Regions from separate parts of the Homo sapiens genome. Here all the other regions are linked to region 4. The links are contacts of gene promoters, found by promoter capture Hi-C in blood cells and fetal thymus (Javierre and others, 2016). All regions are on one chromosome and are shown on one strand. Each heading gives the region's core, a stretch centred on a gene start or on the middle of the fragment in contact. The rest is flanking DNA. Distances are from core to core; before and after follow the strand shown. Region 1 overlaps DMAC2 (distal membrane arm assembly component 2). Region 2 holds the start of B9D2 (B9 domain containing 2). Region 3 overlaps HNRNPUL1 (heterogeneous nuclear ribonucleoprotein U like 1). Region 4 holds the start of ACTMAP (actin maturation protease). Region 5 overlaps HNRNPUL1 (heterogeneous nuclear ribonucleoprotein U like 1). Region 6 holds the start of LINC01480 (long intergenic non-protein coding RNA 1480).

What was found. Contacts are between HindIII fragments. The CHiCAGO score rates a contact against its expected background, and 5 or more counts as called.
Region 1: a fragment that was not itself captured here is called in contact with the fragment with the promoter of ACTMAP in region 4 in 3 of 17 cell types (total CD8 T cells, naive CD4 T cells and non-activated CD4 T cells); the score reaches 5.5 in total CD8 T cells.
Region 2: a contact is called between the fragment with the promoter of B9D2 here and the fragment with the promoter of ACTMAP in region 4, in 8 of 17 cell types (non-activated CD4 T cells, activated CD4 T cells, naive CD4 T cells and 5 more). The highest score is 9.7, in non-activated CD4 T cells.
Region 3: a contact is called between a fragment that was not itself captured here and the fragment with the promoter of ACTMAP in region 4, in 1 of 17 cell types (naive CD4 T cells). The highest score is 5.0, in naive CD4 T cells.
Region 5: a contact is called between a fragment that was not itself captured here and the fragment with the promoter of ACTMAP in region 4, in 6 of 17 cell types (total B cells, total CD4 T cells, naive CD4 T cells and 3 more). The highest score is 7.5, in total B cells.
Region 6: a contact is called between the fragment with the promoter of LINC01480 here and the fragment with the promoter of ACTMAP in region 4, in 3 of 17 cell types (total B cells, activated CD4 T cells and non-activated CD4 T cells). The highest score is 7.6, in total B cells.

The regions. Positions count from the first base shown.
Region 1 is chr19:41,433,673-41,436,538 of GRCh38, reverse strand. It overlaps DMAC2 (distal membrane arm assembly component 2), which reads left to right. Exons shown (of 6, transcript NM_018035.3): 3 at 67-147; 4 at 2,866. Among named protein-coding and RNA genes, the nearest start is that of DMAC2, 4.8 kb to the left of the region's middle. The HindIII fragment of the contact is 7,201 bases long and covers 1-2,866 here.
Region 2 is chr19:41,362,878-41,365,661 of GRCh38, reverse strand. B9D2 (B9 domain containing 2) reads left to right here and starts at 1,513. Exons shown (of 4, transcript NM_030578.4): 1 at 1,513-1,704; 2 at 2,139-2,230. The coding sequence starts at 2,143. It also overlaps a transcript of TMEM91 not described here. RefSeq lists an enhancer at 1,538-1,657. The HindIII fragment of the contact is 18,483 bases long and covers 1-2,784 here.
Region 3 is chr19:41,278,372-41,281,175 of GRCh38, reverse strand. It overlaps HNRNPUL1 (heterogeneous nuclear ribonucleoprotein U like 1), which reads right to left. Exons shown (of 15, transcript NM_007040.6): 6 at 2,000-2,099; 7 at 1-13. Among named protein-coding and RNA genes, the nearest start is that of HNRNPUL1, 15 kb to the right of the region's middle. The HindIII fragment of the contact is 1,048 bases long and covers 880-1,927 here.
Region 4 is chr19:40,749,227-40,751,726 of GRCh38, reverse strand. It overlaps ACTMAP (actin maturation protease), which reads left to right and starts at 1,250. Exons shown (of 6, transcript NM_198476.5): 1 at 1,250-2,246. The coding sequence starts at 1,924. It overlaps SNRPA (small nuclear ribonucleoprotein polypeptide A), which reads right to left and starts at 524. Exons shown (of 6, transcript NM_004596.5): 1 at 246-524. The coding sequence starts at 318. RefSeq lists enhancers at 1-545, 633-702, 1,243-1,482, 1,174-1,799 and silencers at 456-638, 903-1,042. The HindIII fragment of the contact is 2,474 bases long and covers 856-2,500 here.
Region 5 is chr19:41,301,635-41,304,334 of GRCh38, reverse strand. HNRNPUL1 (heterogeneous nuclear ribonucleoprotein U like 1) reads right to left here. Exons shown (of 15, transcript NM_007040.6): 11 at 2,631-2,700; 12 at 1,386-1,670; 13 at 74-363. Among named protein-coding and RNA genes, the nearest start is that of CCDC97, 7.2 kb to the left of the region's middle. RefSeq lists enhancers at 1,355-1,694, 2,648-2,700. The HindIII fragment of the contact is 4,477 bases long and covers 1-2,700 here.
Region 6 is chr19:41,534,103-41,536,802 of GRCh38, reverse strand. LINC01480 (long intergenic non-protein coding RNA 1480) reads right to left here and starts at 1,305. Exons shown (of 3, transcript NR_110724.1): 1 at 1,202-1,305; 2 at 1,020-1,089; 3 at 1-202. The HindIII fragment of the contact is 2,878 bases long and covers 1-1,593 here.

The DNA.
Region 1 (2,866 bases), core at 25-2,524, 680 kb before region 4:
CACTGGGGCATCGTGAGGGCTGTGGTGCTCCCCAGGCCTCACCCTTAGCTACCATTTTCTCTGCAGATCTTACACCTGGCTGGAGAAGCAACATGGTCCATACGGCGCAGGTGCCTTTTTCATCCTGAAGCAGGGAGGCGCAGTCAAGTATGACCGCTAAGGTGTTAGAACGGGCTGGGGCAGGTGGTGGGGTATCTCTCTAACATCCAGGTTCTGCAGTCACACAGGCTTCAGAGTCCCCTGGTCTCTGCCGCCTCCTGGCTGTGTGGCTTGGGACTTGTTCCTGAGCTTCAGTTTTGTCACGTGTAAAATGGGATGGTGGTCATTTCTAACCCACAAGGTTTGCTATAAAGAGTGAACAGGGGCCGGGCACGGTGGCTCACGCCTGTAATCCCAATGCTTTGGGAGGCCAAGGCGGGCGGATCACCTGAGGTCAGGAGTTCGAGAGCAGCTTGGCCAAAATGGCGAAACCCTGTCTCTACTAAAAATACAAAACTTAGCTGGGCGTGGTGGCAGGCGCCTGTAATCCCAGCTACTGGGGAGGCTGAGGCAGGAGAATCGCATGAACCCGGGAGGTGGAGGTTGCAGTGAGCTGAGATTGCACCACTGCACTCCAGCCTGGGGGACAGGGCAAGACTCCATCTCAAAAGTGTCAAAAAAAAAAAAAAAGACTGAACGGAGCTGGGCACACTGGCTCATTCTGTAATCCCAGCACTTTGGGAGGCCGAGACAGGAAGGTCACTGGAGGCCAGGAGTTTGAGAACAGCCTCAGCAGCTTTGTGAGACCCTGTCTCTACAAAAAATGTTTTAAATTAGCCAGGTATGGTGGCACATGCCTGTGGTCCCAGCCACTCAGGAGGCTAAGGCGGGAGAATCGCTTCAGTCCAGGAGGCTACAGTGAGCTGTAGTCACACCACTGAACTCTAGCCTGGGCAACACAGGGAGACCTCATCACAAAAAATAATAATAGGCCGGGCGCGGTGGCTCACACCTGTAATCGCAGCACTTTGGGAGGCCGAGGCTGGTGGATCATCTGAGGTCAGGAGTTCGAGACCAGCCTAGCCAACGTGGTGAAACCCTGTCTCCACTAAAAATACAAAATTAGCTTGGCATGGTGGCGCACGCCTGTAATGCCAGCTACTTAGGAGGCTGAGGCAGGAGAATCCCTTAGAAGCCGGGATGCAGAGGTTGCAATGAGCCAAGATCACGCCACTGCACTCCAGCCTGGGTGACAGAGCAAGACTCTGTCTCAAAATAATAATAATAATGGCTGGGCGTGGTAGCTCATGCCTTTGCACTTTGAGAGGCCAAGGCAGGTACAGCACTTGAGCCCAGGAGTTCAAGACCAGCCTCGGCAACATAGTGAAACCTCGTCTCTACCAAAATACAAAATTACCCAGGCATGGTGGTGCATGCCTGTAATCCCAGCTACCCAGTGGGACCCTGTCAGGGGGAGTGAGAGATTAACTGTGATTTTGCAATGTAAGAAGCCTAGCAATGCATATGTGCTCAATAATTTTTTTTTTTTTTTGAGACAAGAGTCTTGCTCTTGTCGCCCAGGCTAGAGTGCAGTGGCACAATCTCGGCTCACTGCAACCTCCATCTCCTGGGTTCAAGCAATTCTCCTGCCTCAGCCTCCCAAGTACCTGGGATTATAGGTGCACACTACCACGCCCGGCTAATTTTTTTTATTTTTGGTAGAGACAGGGTTTTACCATGTTGGCCAGGCTGGTCTCCAACCCCTGACCTCAAGTGATCCACCCACCTCGGCCTCCCAAAGTGCTGGGGATTACAGGCGTGAGCCACTGGTGGCGCCTGGCCTGTGCTCAATAATGTTTTTCTTTCTTTCCTTCTTCCCCGCCTCCTTTCTCCTTCCCTTTCTCTTTCCTTTGCTTTTTTTCTTTTTTTGGAAAAGACAGTTCACATAGACTTCATCTACCCCTCCATCTGGTTTGAGCACTTCCTCTGGCAACTTCCTTAGAAACAGTATACATGTTTGAAAATGTCCCTTAACTTCTGCCCATCTACAAGGATTCTTGCATTTTACCTCTTTGCTCTTATGTTATCTGTAATCTCGCTGACCCTCAGTTTCTAGGTATGTAAAATTGGCAAAACATTCCTTTTTTTTTTTTTTTTTTTTTGAGATAGGGTCTCCCAGGCTGGAGCACAGTGGCATGATCACAACTCACTACAGCCTCGACCTCCTGGGTTCAAGCTATCCTCCCACCTCAGCCTCCCAAGTAGCTGAGACCACAGGTGCAAGCCACCAAGCCCAGCTAATTTTTGTTTTTTTGTTTTTTTTTTGAGATGGAGTCTCGCTCTGTCACCCAGGCTGGAGTGCAGTGGCACGATCTCGGCTCACTGCAAGCTCCGCCTCCCAGGTTCAAACAATTCTCCTGCCTCAGCCTCCCAAGAAGCTGGGAGTACAGGCGCCTGCCACCATGCTCAGCTAATTTTTTTGTATTTTTAGTAGAGATGGGGTTTCACCGTGTATTAGCCAGGATGGTTTCGATCTCCTGACCTCGTAGTCCGCCCACCTCGGCTCCCAAAGTGCTGGGATTACAGGCGTGAGCCACCGCACCTGGCCAATTTTTGTATTTTTTCATAGGGACGAGGTCTCACTATGTTGCCCAGGCTGGTCTCAAACTCCTGAACTCAAGTGATTCTCCTGCCTCAGCCTCCCAAAGTGCTGGGATTACAGGCGTGAGCCACTGCGCACAGCCAGATGGAGTCTTTTTCTAAGATGGAATTAGTTATGTCAAGGGTGACCTATACATATTATATAGGGCTGGGGAAGGTTCTGAAGAGGCTGGAGGCCTGGGGCAGGTTCAGGTGCCCTGCTGACACTCCCTTTCCCGTTTCCAGG
Region 2 (2,784 bases), core at 264-2,763, 610 kb before region 4:
AGGCTGAGGCGGGTGGACCACCTGAGGTCAGGAGTTTGAGACCGGTCTGGCCAATATGGTGAAAACCCGTCTCTACTAAAAATACAAAAATTAGCTGGGTGTGGTGGTGCACGCCTGTAGTCCCAGCTACTCGGGAGGCTGAGGCAGGAGAATCTCTTGAACCCGGGAGGCAGAGATTGCAGTGAGCTGGGATCGCACCACTGCACTCCAGCCTGGATGACAGGGGGAGACGCCATCTCAAAAAGTAAAAAACCAAAATTATAACGAGGGTACAACATTTCAATAGGATAACATTTATATTAAACAATTCAATGGAATACTTCACTAGTTGATATATGCATTATTAATGGGGTCTCCCTATATTCGAACTTCTGGCCTCAAGAGCTCTTCCCGCCTCAGCCTTCCAAAGGGCTGGGATTACAGTTATGAGCCACCGCGCCTAGCCAATGGTAGCTTGTAAATACTTTGTATCTATTGGCCTGGCTGGGTGGCTCACGCCTGTAATCCCGGCAGTTTGGGAGGGAGAACTGGGAGGATAGCTAGAGCCCAGGAGGTCAAGACAAGACTGGGCAACATAGCAACATAGCAGGACTCCATCTCTTAAAAAAAAAAAAAAGAATTAGCCAGCCGTGGTGGTGCATGTCTGTGATACCAGCTACATGGGAGGCTGAGGTAGGAGGATCCCTTGAACCCAGGAGTTAAGAGGCTGCAATGAGCTGTGATCGAGCCACCGTACTCCAGCCTGGGTGACAGAGTGAGACCCTTTTAAGGAGCCTTGATGGGACCTGATGACTGGCTTGATGTGGGAAATGATGGCATCTAGGATGGCATCCAGGGACAACATCTCCATTTCTTGATTGATAAATCAATCAATAGGAAAGAGGATTTTCTGCAAATAAGGGAATCTTAGTTCCTCATTTCTCTTCGCTACCCCAACCGCTCCTTGCTCAGAATCAAGCAGTAACAGTGAACTTGGTAGTAGCTCCGAGAAGGAAGTTGGACTTATCCAACTTCCTTCCTTCCTTGTCCTTGAGAAACCTAGGGGAACTCTAAAACGGAAGCAGAACCCACTCCCCAACTTCTCCACTCTCTGAATGAGGAGTGATTTTTTTGCTTTGTTTTCCAGTTACAAGGCCGGGGATGTACACGAGGTCCTGGAAGGAATTCCCCCTTGGTCCTGGTTCAATCTCTGATTTGTGATCCCGGACCACAGAGAGCTCTTCGGTGGGGTAGGCGCAGCACGGAGCAGTTAGGGATTTGCTTTTTTGGTAAAGAAGGTATCTGGGAGAAACTGCACTCAAACTTCCTCAGCCACACTCAACATGGCAGCTTCCTAGCCACGCCCAAAATGGCGGAACCCTTTGCCGTAGCTGGAGAGACGCTATTTTCCCAAAATGGAGCGGAGGAGGAAAATGTCCATCACAGCTTCACCCCGCCCCCCGCAGACGGCTAGCACCAATTAGTAGCGCGCAGAGCGAGTACAAAGCTAGGGGAGGAGCCTGCTGTTGCCCCAGCAACAACCACGGAAACCAAGACGAGCGCGGTCGCGGAAGTATCGCGGCTTACATATCTCGCAGCCAGGCGGGTCCTGGGAGAGGCGCGAGCCAGGCCTGGTCGGCGCCCGCGGAGAAAAGAAGCAGTCAAGCCCATGAACTACAACCCCGGTTGCCGCTTTCTCCTCTCCTAACCGTTAAGTGCGCTAAGGTAGGAATGACGCATGCGCTGCGCTTAGAGGCGGGGTTAAGTCGGACCTGAACTCATAACGCATGCGCCTTATGGAGCTTGCTGGGGGAGGGAAGCGGGGTGGCTGGCGTGACGCGGAAGGCGGGTCTTTTGCGCTCGTGGGCGGAGCCATAGCCCCTTCGGGCGGGGCTTTCCGCCGACCTGAACCCGAAAAGGTTATTTTGGACTTCCCAGAGTTAAATGCTGGTTCCCCAGACAAGGGTCCCCCCATTTTTTCCAGGCTTTCATGGGTTGGCAATTAGGATCTGTGGTCAAGACCTCAGCCTCAGGGGTGTGACGAAGCTAGCTTGGAATCCTAGTACTACCCTTTACTTGCTGGGCCTCAGTTTCCCCCCCGTCAAATGGAGATAATACACTTACCTCACAGGGTTGTGATTATATTTTTCCCCTCCCAGGGCCATGGCTGAGGTGCACGTGATCGGGCAGATCATAGGGGCCAGCGGTTTCTCGGAAAGTAGCCTCTTCTGCAAGTGGGGCATTCACACAGGTATTCCCCCAAGCCTGGTTCATTTCCACACCAAGACCCCTAGCCTAGAGGCTACATGCTCCTTCCTCCACCCCTTAACGCAGACTCTTAACCTCATTTCCATCAGTTCTCAGTACTCCAGGCCCAGCCCACACCCTGTCCACATGAGTCTCAAGCTCCCATCTTTGTGTGTGTGAGGGGTGGGATACAGACAGGGTCTCTCTCTGCGCCCGGGCTGGAGTAAGGTGGTGTGATCATAGCTCAGTGCAGCCTCGAACTCTCGGGCTCTAGTGATCCTCCCGCCTCAGCCTCCTGAGAAGCTGGGACTACAGACACGCACCACCAAATCTGGCTAATTTTTTTTATTTTTTGTAGAGACAGGGTCTCGCTATGTTGCCCAGGCTGGTCTCGAACTCCTGCGCTCAAACAGGCCACCCACTTCAGCCTCTCAAAGTGCTAGGATTAAAAACGTGAGCCGCCACGTCCCAGGAAAGTAATTTTGTTCATGCTTCCCCAACTGAGGCCCTATAGAGTCATGGTATAGTGTAATGGTTAGGGTCATGGGCTGCCAGATC
Region 3 (2,804 bases), core at 154-2,653, 530 kb before region 4:
AAAGGCTCTTCGCCTGACGGAAGAAATAGGCAAAGGCAGGTTAAACCTGCGATGGTCATAACAGCCTCAATGGCTGCCACATACTTTTATTTTTGAAGAAAAAAATCATTTTCTTTACTAGTTTTATTAATCAGATGCCTTTTTAAAATAGGGGTGGGGAAGGGTGAAAGGAAGCCCTTAATGATGTAGAACTTGGAGGGCTTGATGGGTTTCATTGTCCAGTCTGGGAGTAGGAGCTCAACTGAATAACTCTGCACAGAGGGGAGAATTTGAAAAGAAAGGGAGGAAGGAAGACAGGAGTTGGGATGGAGGAGAATGGCTGTATGCTGAGATGCAACCCTTCCTTGTGACACCCAATATTCAGTCCAGTCTACTTGTGGTAGAAATCAGTGAAGGGGCTGGATTTTGCTCCTGGAGACCATGAGGACTGACCCCTGGGAAAGGTACTAGATTTCCTCAGGCTACAGAACTGGGTGCTGAAGTGATATGACTGAGAGATCCCAAGGGCTCTGGCTGACACCTGAGTTAGAGATTCCGGGCAGAACCCAAAGAGTATGCTGTTAGAAAAGCAGGGGCCGACAAGCATGAATGCCAGGGCTCGTTCTGCTACAAACCAGCTATGTGACCCTGGATATGGTGCTTGACCTCCTGGGCTGTTTCCCCATCCCTATCAACTGCCACCACCTACATCTCAAAACGGAGACAGAGATAAGATGAGATGACTTATGAGTCTTAAATAAAAAGTGCTAACACATATGGAAATGAAAACTGTATACTTTTTTTTTTTGGTGCTAACATATCTACCTTTTTGAGGAGGTACCAATTTATGGGGTACATGTGCAATTCTGTTACATGCACAGATTGCATAGTGGTCAAGCTTTTAGGGTGTTCATCACCTAAAAAATGTACATCGTACCCATTAACCAATTTCTCATCCTCCTCCACCTTGTTACCCCCTAACACTTCTGAGTCTCCATTATCTATTATTCCACTCTCTAAGTCCATGTGAACATATTTTTTAAACAAACACTTGTGAGTGAGAATATCATCTATTTTTAAAGATTAGTCTTAAGTGGTCAGGCAATTATGGACCAGGATAATGGCTCAAGTGTTAAAACAGCAAAAATTTGCAATAAGTTTAAATGAGCTACAGAAGGGGACTTGTTAAATAATGCAACTATAAAATGGAAAATTATGCAGTAGTCAAAAAGCTGCAGTTATTTACAAAAATATGCCCATCATACATTAAAACAAGGCTATACAAAGTAGTCCTAGTGTGATCCAGTTTAAAGATGTACAAAAAAATAAATGTCCAGAAGACTACAAATGGAATGTTAACATTGGTTAGTTTCTCTCACAGGTTTAGGAAGGATTTTCATTTTTCCCTTTCTGTATGGCCTGAATTCTTATACGCAACACATATTATTTTCATAATTGGAACGTTTGTATGATCATAAACGGAAGGCAGGAGGTGTCAGCATTGGTCAGAATAATCAGTCACTTGGGACCAGAAGGTCATTGAAGCCTGGGGACCCGCAAAATTCAAAACCTTTCAATAGGCAGCCCCTGCCCCTCTCCCAACTAGCCCTGGCCTCACTGGTCTCTGCTCCCCTTTTTCCTCTAGGTTAGGCTCCGGACAGAAAATACAGACAGAACTTAATGGAGCTTGGGAACTTATCAGCAGCTTGGTTTAAGGGCAGGAGACACTGATCCTTTTTACAGAAAGGGAATAGATTCCTAAAGAGAATTTTGGACCCTCTCCTAAAAGATGAAGGATAAGAATTGATTCTTCACAGAAAAGTTGTTTCATGACCATAGTCCTCTCAGTTGAATACAGCATGACAGAGACAGTGGCATATACCTAATCCTTGTACCTGTTCCACTTCAGCCTAGTTCTATTCTAAGTCTGACGCTGGAAAAGGAAGCTTAGGAGCCTTGAAAATCCAAGGGTAGGGACAGTCACTCTATTCTCTGGACTGCATAGCTGACCCCTCCTTACCTAGCTGGGTGCTGCAGGAGTCCAGGGACCAGCCGATACGGACCACGTGGGGGTCAGGCTCTGTAGACGGAAGGTGCTTCACGGAGATTTCCTCATTGATCTGAGGAAAGAGGACAAAAGGGCTCAGGGTTGCTTCTCTGGAGGCCGTAGGTTATGAGCCAATATAGGAGGGAAGCATATCAGGCATTAAAAAATAGCAATGGCTTTTCTTGCTGGAGAAGAAGCGTTTAAGCAGCTCTGAAAAGCCTGTTGAACCGAATCGAAGCCAGGGCCTCCAAAGGGATCAGTAGAGTACAGGGCCACAGAGACAGGCATTTCAAAATACGGTTATGTTTTAGTTTAAGAGACTCTTGTAACATCTAGTAGAAAGATAAACTGTTACAGTGTCTTTAGAGGGCAATCTAGAAGTCTCTATCAAAACTGTAAATGGCTGGGGATGGTGACTCACACCTGTAATCCCAACACTTTGGGAGGCCAAGGCAGGAGGATGGCTTGAGGCCAGGAGTTAGGAACCAGCCTGGCCAACATAGCAAGACCCCATCTTTACAAAAACATTAAAAGAAAAAAACAACAAAACCCCATAAATGCACATGCTCTATAACTCAGCATCCTATAGATACACTAATATGTGGACAAGTATGTCTACGTATGTGTGACTGTATTTGTATATGCAACATTCTGTGCAGCATTGGATGTATATATGTGCACATATATATATATATATATATTTTAACATCAGAAAAAATATCAATAAAGCACTGATTATGGTATATCCATGCCACAAAATATGATGCAACAGTTAAAA
Region 4 (2,500 bases), core at 1-2,500:
GCTTCCTGGAGGAAGGGTCCTGTGACCTCAAACCTTGTAAGATGAGCAGCAGTGACCACGTTAAAGGGCAGAGTGTAAGATGAACTAATGGAGTGTTGAAGACAGGAAGTAGTTTGTGTAAAGGCCAAGGAGTTAACTCGAAGTTTGGCTGGACAAACACTTAGAAAGAGAGGCGGGTGCAGGGGACGGAAGAGGGGCCAGCCCGTGCGGGACAGTCTGGACTCCGGACTATCCCGAGAACTCACCATCCTTCTTGATCTTCTCATTGAGGTTGTTGATATAAATAGTGTGGTTAGGGCGGGTCTCGGGAACTGCCATGGAGTGAAGTGTTGAGGTAAGTCTTAAAGGAGGAAAAACGTGACTTTAGCCCTGGGTTTCTCCAAATCCTTTGTCCCAACGTCGGCTGCTCAAGGATCTTCCTCCGAAAAGGAAGTCAGGTAAGGCGGGAGTAGGGGCAAGGACGGAGGCAAAGCGCGACAACAAAGCGTGCGTAGGACCCGCTTCTCCAGCCCGCGTGCGGAGAGAACTCTCGAGAGATTTACTACGACTTCCAGGATGCTCTACGCGACCCGGTGGGCGGAGCACCCTAAATGGCGATTCCCATTGGCCCAAGCATCCGAAGGGCCGTCCCGGAGAAAAAACCCGGATGTGGGAGCCAGTATAGAAAAAAGGGACAGGTCCTAGGCAGCCTGGCCTCGAGCAGCAAGTTTCCTCAGACGGGCCCAGGAAGGCCCGGACGCCAAGCGTACCGCTCGCCTGCCGCCGATGGTCGTTTGCACCGGAGGTTACCTTCCGACAGGGCCGTAGTTCTCTCAACCGGCGCCTGCTACTTCCCTGAGACCAAACCACAAAGCTTTCTCTCCTGGCCCCGCCTCTGCCTTTCTGCCAGCCAATCGCCGCGCGGAAACGCAGTAGCTTGACCAATCAGAGCAAGTCTCGTTTCTGGGCTCAGCTGTTGCCAATCAAAACGATATTTGGGTTCCCGCCTAGGTAGAAAAACCCCGCCCCACTCCCTGAAAGCCCACCTCCTTCCGTGGCGCCCGGGTCTACGGACCAATCAGTGAAGGTCACGAGTCTGTACGCGTCTCGCGCTGCGGTGTCTTCCGGAGGCAATCCTTTTTGGAGTCCCGCCTCTTACCCCCGCCAGAGCTGCGTTTTCTGTCACGTGATCGCAAAATGGGCGGGAACTGTTGCGTGTAATACCACGTGATATGGGAAAGGCAGTGTGCGGGGGCCGCCATTTTCCGGGAGTGGGAGGTGCACTTTACTTCCTGACTCCTTTCCTTTTTCCAGTGGTTATCGCGGCGCCCACCGGCCTCTGATCTCTGAGTCTTCTCCAACCCACAGACGTTTTTTGTTGCTCTGGTTCCAGGACCTTCTCCACAACTAGGCCATTTTCCCTGCCAGGTGTCCTTTTTGACCTCTTGACCTCTGACTCAAAGGTCAGCTCAAAGGTTCCGAACTCGGGCCTGGGATGTGAGGGGGTACTGAACCTAAGTTCTCCGAATCTTTAGCCCTGGGTCCCTAAGTCGCATCCTTAAGGCACCTCACTCTAGATCTGAGCCTTCATATCCCAAACTCACTCATGAGTTTCCACATCCAGCCCCAAAGAATGAGTTAACTCCTACTAACTCTCCACCTAAGACTCCCGAGGTAACCCAACCGGTACCACAGATCCGGTTCCGGATTTAAGGACCCCACCCTGTTAACCGTCAGGTGCCTTATGACTTGAGTCAGCCTCGCAATTCCTGCTCCCGTGGTTTCAAATATTAGCCCTGGTCCTTTCACACCCACTGCTCAGTCCCCAGATTCTGGAACTCAGCTCTTAAACCTTTAAAATCTCCATCCCTGAGACCGTTCTCCGTTGGAGGATCCTTCCCTCCCCGCTTTCTGAACCTCTCAACACCTCCTGTAGACCCCAAAATGACTTCTCCATGCTCTCCTCCCCTAAAACCACCAATTTCTCCTCCAAAAACCCCTGTACCCCAAGCCAGCAGCATTCCATCTCCTCCTCTACCCCCAAGTCCCCTGGACTTTTCAGCTTTACCATCCCCTCCCTGGAGTCAGCAGACCCCTGTTCCCCCACCGCTCCCACTGCCTCCTCCACCCGCTGCCACAGGGCCTGCTCCCCGTCATGTCTTCGGCCTGGAGAAGAGCCAGCTCCTGAAGGAGGCCTTTGATAAGGCCGGCCCGGTCCCCAAGGGCAGAGAAGATGTGAAGAGGCTTCTGAAACTACACAAGGACCGGTAGGGTCTCCATGCCCCACCCACCACCCAGGCTCTGCCCTAGACACTTCACAGATCTCTTGGGGTGGGGGGGGGGTTCCCGTGTCCTCAAGATCAAACAGGCTGACTACTTAGGTCCCCCACCTAGATCTCTTCCATGGTGGTGTGCCTCCAGCAATGAAGAAAGCTGTCCTCACAAGTGCCCAGTCCAGTCCGGGTGCTTTGGCTCATGCATGTAATCCCAGCACTTTGGGAGGCCGAGGCGGGTGGATCAC
Region 5 (2,700 bases), core at 1-2,500, 550 kb before region 4:
CCTCCACCTAACTTGCTCAGGTTCAAAAGCACACGTGCGATCACTACATACAAACACACACTCATTCTCTCACCTGTGGAGGGCTGTAGCTGCTGACGGTGGGGGTGCTGGTATTGGCGCTTGAGCCAGGGATGTTGCTGTTCTTATTGTAGGTGCTGGCCCCTGGGGGGTTCCGAGCAGGGCTGTAGCTGGGTGGTGGCGGTGGCTGCTGGGGTGGTGGCTGTGGTGGCGGAGGCTGCTGTGGTGGCGGCTGTTGCTGGGGAGCCCGGTTGTAGCTGCCTCTGTTGTTGGAGTTGTTGTTATCCCGGTTGTTGTTACCCCAGCGGTTCTGGCTATAGCCACCACCTCCGCTGCGGTTGAAACCTGTGTTGGAGAAATCCAGATGAAAGGCGCCATCATTCCCAAATGGCAACCCCAGGGAACTGGGTTGTCTTGGTGACTACTGTGAGCCGGCATGGCCAGGCGCAGAGCAAGAACTCAAGGTGAACAACAAAGCATGTCCTCTGGGATTCTCTAGACCCCCGGGCATACTCCCCTGTCCCAGCCCTTATGACAGGTTTGTCTCATTCACTGGACTGCAAGAATGGTGAGGCAGAGACCAAGGCAGTCCTGGGTTTCTGTGTCCCAGCATCTCAATAGCTGTTGAATATGCAGGAAGGAGATGCTCAAGGAGAGGAAGCTGGCAGGGTGCGGTGGCTCACATCTGTAATCCTAGCACTCTGGGAGGCTAAGGCGGGTGGACCACGTGAGGTCAGGAGTTCAAGACCAGCCTGACCAACATGGAGAAACCCCATCTCTACTAAAAATACAAAATTAGCCGGGCGTGGTGGTGCTTGCCTACAATCCCAGCTACTCAGGAGACTGAGGCGAGAGAATCGCTTGAATGCCGGGAGGCAGAGGTTGCAGTGAGCCGAGATTACACCATTGCACTCTAGCCTGGGCAACAAGAGCAAAACTCCGTCTCAAAAAAAAAAAAAAAAAAAATGAGAGGAAGCTAAGCACTGGTGACAGCCATGAACGAGTCACATCTAGTCCTCTTCAGACCTGGCCAAAGATGTAGCCCCCATTTCCAATAGATTTTGATCTAGATCCTATTTCCAAGGAGCTCATGGTCAGATGGGGGAAGGTTCACAAAAATGACAGCAATGTGACAGAATGTGCACTGTGATATGCAAATGGGCAAAGGGCTTCATAACCAGCGTCCAGGGAGTGGGAAAGTGGGAGCGTTTCTGAGGTCTCCGTGTCTGACTTGTTTCAAGTTTTCTACCAGAGTATAACTCACAGCTGGAGCTCAGAAAACTTCAGTTGCTGATTGAATAAGCAGTCAAAGCCCAGCCCCAACCTGGGAACAGAAAGTGGAGAGTGCTGTGTGTGAGATGTCTCACCTCCTCGGTAGTTGCCTCCTCCACCGCTGCCTCCCCCTCGGTTCTGGAAGCCGCCACGGTTGCCTCCAGGGGGTCCTCGGTTTTCATAGCGCTGGAAGCCACCACCACCCCCGCGGCCCCGGAAGCCACCACCACCTCGGTTGTCAAAGCGCTTTTCAGGGGGTGGCCCAGCCTTGCGGCCTTCCTCGTTGTACTGCCTCACTAGCTTGTCCGCTTCCTCCCGCTGCAGCTCAATGAACAGAACCTCATCCAGGAAGTCCCCAACATCTGGCAACGTGAAGTTGGCTAGGAGGAAGGAAGTGCCCCAAAGAGAACAAGAAGAAGAGGTCAGTACCTTCTGAAGTCTGGTCCCCTCCACCCAGAAGAGTGGCCTTCCAGAAGGGAGAAGGTGAAGAAAACTGGAATAGTGAATAAGAAAGACATAGACAGAAGGGCGGGCGCGGTGGCTCACGCCTGTAATCCCAGCACTTTGGGAGGCCGAGGCGGGTGGATCACCTGAGGTCAGGAGTTCAAGACCAGCCTGGCCAACATGGCAAAACCCCATCTCTACTAAAAATACAAAAATTAGCCAGGCATGGTGGTGGACACCTGTAGTCCCAGCTACTCGGGAGGCTGAGGCAGGAGAACTGGGTGAACTCAGGAGGCGGAGGTTGCGGTGAGCCAAGATCGCACCACTATACTCCAGCCTGGGTGACAGGGCAAGACTCCCTCTCCAAAAAAAAAAAAAAAAAAAAACAGAGAGAGAGAGAAAGAGGTAGACAAAGCCCCAACCCCTCAGCCTGCTAAGTGTCAGGGGCTAACAAAGACTCCTCCGTTTTCTGAAGAGGTGGCTAAGACCCACCTAGACACAGTGCACAGCTCCCTCAGGCCTCACCCCAGGGAATGGGTCAGACAGATGGCATCACCATCCCTATATTTACAGAGAAACAAACTGAGGCCTGCCCACAGTCAGCCCATCTGGGACCAGAGGCAGGGTGAGCACACAGGACTTTCAGCTTTAGCTCCCATACATCCTTTCCCTTGTGCTGCCCCAGCCCCATCCAGCCTGAAAACCCCAACATAAGACAGATGGGTAGCTTTTCCATTCACAGCTGTGGTAGACAAGGAAGGGACAAAGCAGAAGCAAAGAAAGAGTAAGATCAAAAAAGAAATCACTGGGGAGCCAGGGAAGGACAAACTGAGTAAAGAGCTTCTTCTCTCCAGGACCCTGCATTGACGTTCCTCTGGGAAGCACTCATTTCCTACCTTTCATTTCTAAGACCGCATGATCTGGGACATCCTTCCCTTCCTCGTCGGTTCGCTTTATTGTTCGGTC
Region 6 (2,700 bases), core at 56-2,555, 790 kb before region 4:
GGCCCAGGCTCTCCTCTGGCTGCCCCAGCCAAACTCTATGTCAATCCATTGGTCGGTGGCCTGCCAGAGTGCTGGTGCCTGTTGGTGGATTCCTCTCAGCGTCGAGAGTTTTTCCCTCTCAGGAAAGGGAGAGAAGTGGCAGCCACCCATGTGTTCTTGCACTGATGTGCTCCTCTCGACGTCCAACCTCCTGTGTGTCTGCCTGCTAGGGTCCCAGGGTTTTTTTAGGCACAGGATAGGGCATGGTGGGCCAGGGTGATCTTGGGAAATGCAACATTTGGTCAGGAAAACAAAAATGCCTGTCCTCATCTAGGTCCAGGGGCACAAGCCCAGGTTTGGAGCCCTAGCCAGGGACCCCGGCCTCCTCTACCCATCACTTTCCTTCACCTTTTCTGTATCATTCAAAGGGACCATGCCCTTCCCTTCCCAGCACTTCTCTTCTGTATCAATAGGTGATGTTTTTAAAATTTCCCAACTCTAGTGCAGGCATGGTACTAGACATATACATAGAAATAAAACCACACTTATTCTTCTGGCTGGCAAGACATAGTATTTTTGCCAAATTATGTGTTGTTTTGAAGCATTTTATGTACCCCTGGTCATATAAAAATAAAGCTATTTTGTTCAGTACAAACAGCAGCATTTTCTGGATTAGAAAGTTAATCATCTTAAAAGATCATCACGGATTTTTCCATTGCACTCATCACTAATTGCTTTGGCAAAAAATTTCTTATCTCACGCATGACAAAATCAGCCGCAGTATCTCCTAGTAATTTAATGGTGATGATCTTTATAAAGGAAATAAGCACATCAAGGGAAAACATAATTTTTTTAAAAAAAAGAGTAATAAAACTTTTTAAAAGTCTTTTTTAAAAGACTGCTTTTCTAAAATAGTAAAATAAAACTCCACCAATAAAACCACCAACAAAACAGAAAAGAAAAAATAATGATATGATCGGAGCTATTTGATGAAAGATGGTAAATTAAATTTAAAATGATTAGAAGAGAAAAAGCAATACCTGTCTCCCGTAGGTCTCAGTCCAGGTTCTGCTATGCCTTTCTCCTGGTGAGCCACCTATTTAAGAGTCGCTTAAAGCATATGTTAATCCAACAACAGCAGATTAAAAACCAATGCAATCTGAACTATTTGATCTAAAAACATAAATAAAATTTAAAACAAATAAAAGAGAAAAAGCAGTACCTGTGTCCTGTAGGTCTCAGTCCAAGATCTGCTCTGACTCCCTTGTGGTGAGTTAGCCCTTTAGAAGTCACTTGGGGTGGGGCATATGTTAATTCCACTAACATTGGTTCTGGCCAATGAGTCAGGAAGGTGGTAAATGGCACCTTTTCTTCTTGCTGATTTCTTTCAGTTCCTTTGGAGTCTGGACATTAGTCCTTTGTCAGATGCCTAGTTTGTGACTACTGTTTCCTATACTGTGGGTTGTGTGTTTACCCTGCTGATATTTCTTCTGCCTTGCAGAAGATTTTCGGTTTCATTAGGTCCTATTGATCTTATTCTATTTTTATATTTTTGCGTTTGCTTTTGGGGCATTAGTCATGACTACTTGGCCTAAGCCAATGTCTAGAAAAGCTTTTTGGATGCTATCTTGTAGCATTTTTAGACTTTCAGGTCTTAGATGGAAGTTTTTATATGCTTTGTTAAAGATCAGGTGACTGAAAGTACCGGGCTTTGTTTCTCGGTTCTCTATTCTGTTCCATTGCTCTATGTGCCTATTTTTATACTTCCTGCACCATTTATTGAATAAAGTGTCCTTTCCCCAATTAGTGTTTTTGCATACTTTGTTGAAGATTAGTTGTCTGTAAGCATTTGGCTTTATTTCTGGGTTCTCTATTCTGTTCCATTGCTCTATGTGCCTATTTTTATACTTCCTGCACCATTTATTGAATAAAGTATCCTTTCCCCAATTAATGTTTTTGTGTACTTTGTTGAAGATTAGTTGTCTGTAAGCATTTGGCTTTATTTCTGGGTTCTCTATTCTGTTCTATTGCTCTATGTGCATATTTTATACCAGTATCATGCTATTTTGGTGATTGTAGCCTTGTAGTATAATTTAAAGCCTGCCTTCAGATTTGTTCTTTTTGCAAAGTATTGCTTTGGATATGCGGTCACGTTTTTGGTTTTGTATAAATTTTAGGATTCTTTTTTCTAGTTCTGGGAAGGAGAATGATGATATTTTGATGAGAATTCTACTGCTCTGTAGATGGCTTTGGAGAGTATGGTCACTTTCACAATATTGATTCTACCTATTCATAAGCTTATAATGTGTTCCCATTTGTTTGTGTCAACTGTGATTTCTTTCAGCACTATTTTGTAGTTTTCCTTGTAGGAAACTTACATTAACCTACTTGGTTAAGTATATTTCTAAGTATTTTACTTATTAAAAATTCTCAGGGAAATGCAAAGTAAAACTGAGGTGGGAAATTAAAGAAAAATAAAATTAAAAAGAAAGGGAAATAAGCTTTCTTGTATTAAGCTAACTTGTCCCAGAGGCAGCAACAGGCACAGCCCAGACCCAGGAAAAGTCTTGATAATATTATTTATTGTATTCTGGAGACTCTTCCAGCACTCCTTCAATGTAGGGAGAAGAAAAACAAATTTTCCTTTGTTTTATGGTATGAGTTTATAGATTCTTGTTCTCTTTAACTAGTAACTTCAAGTATTCTGTTTTATCTAAGAAG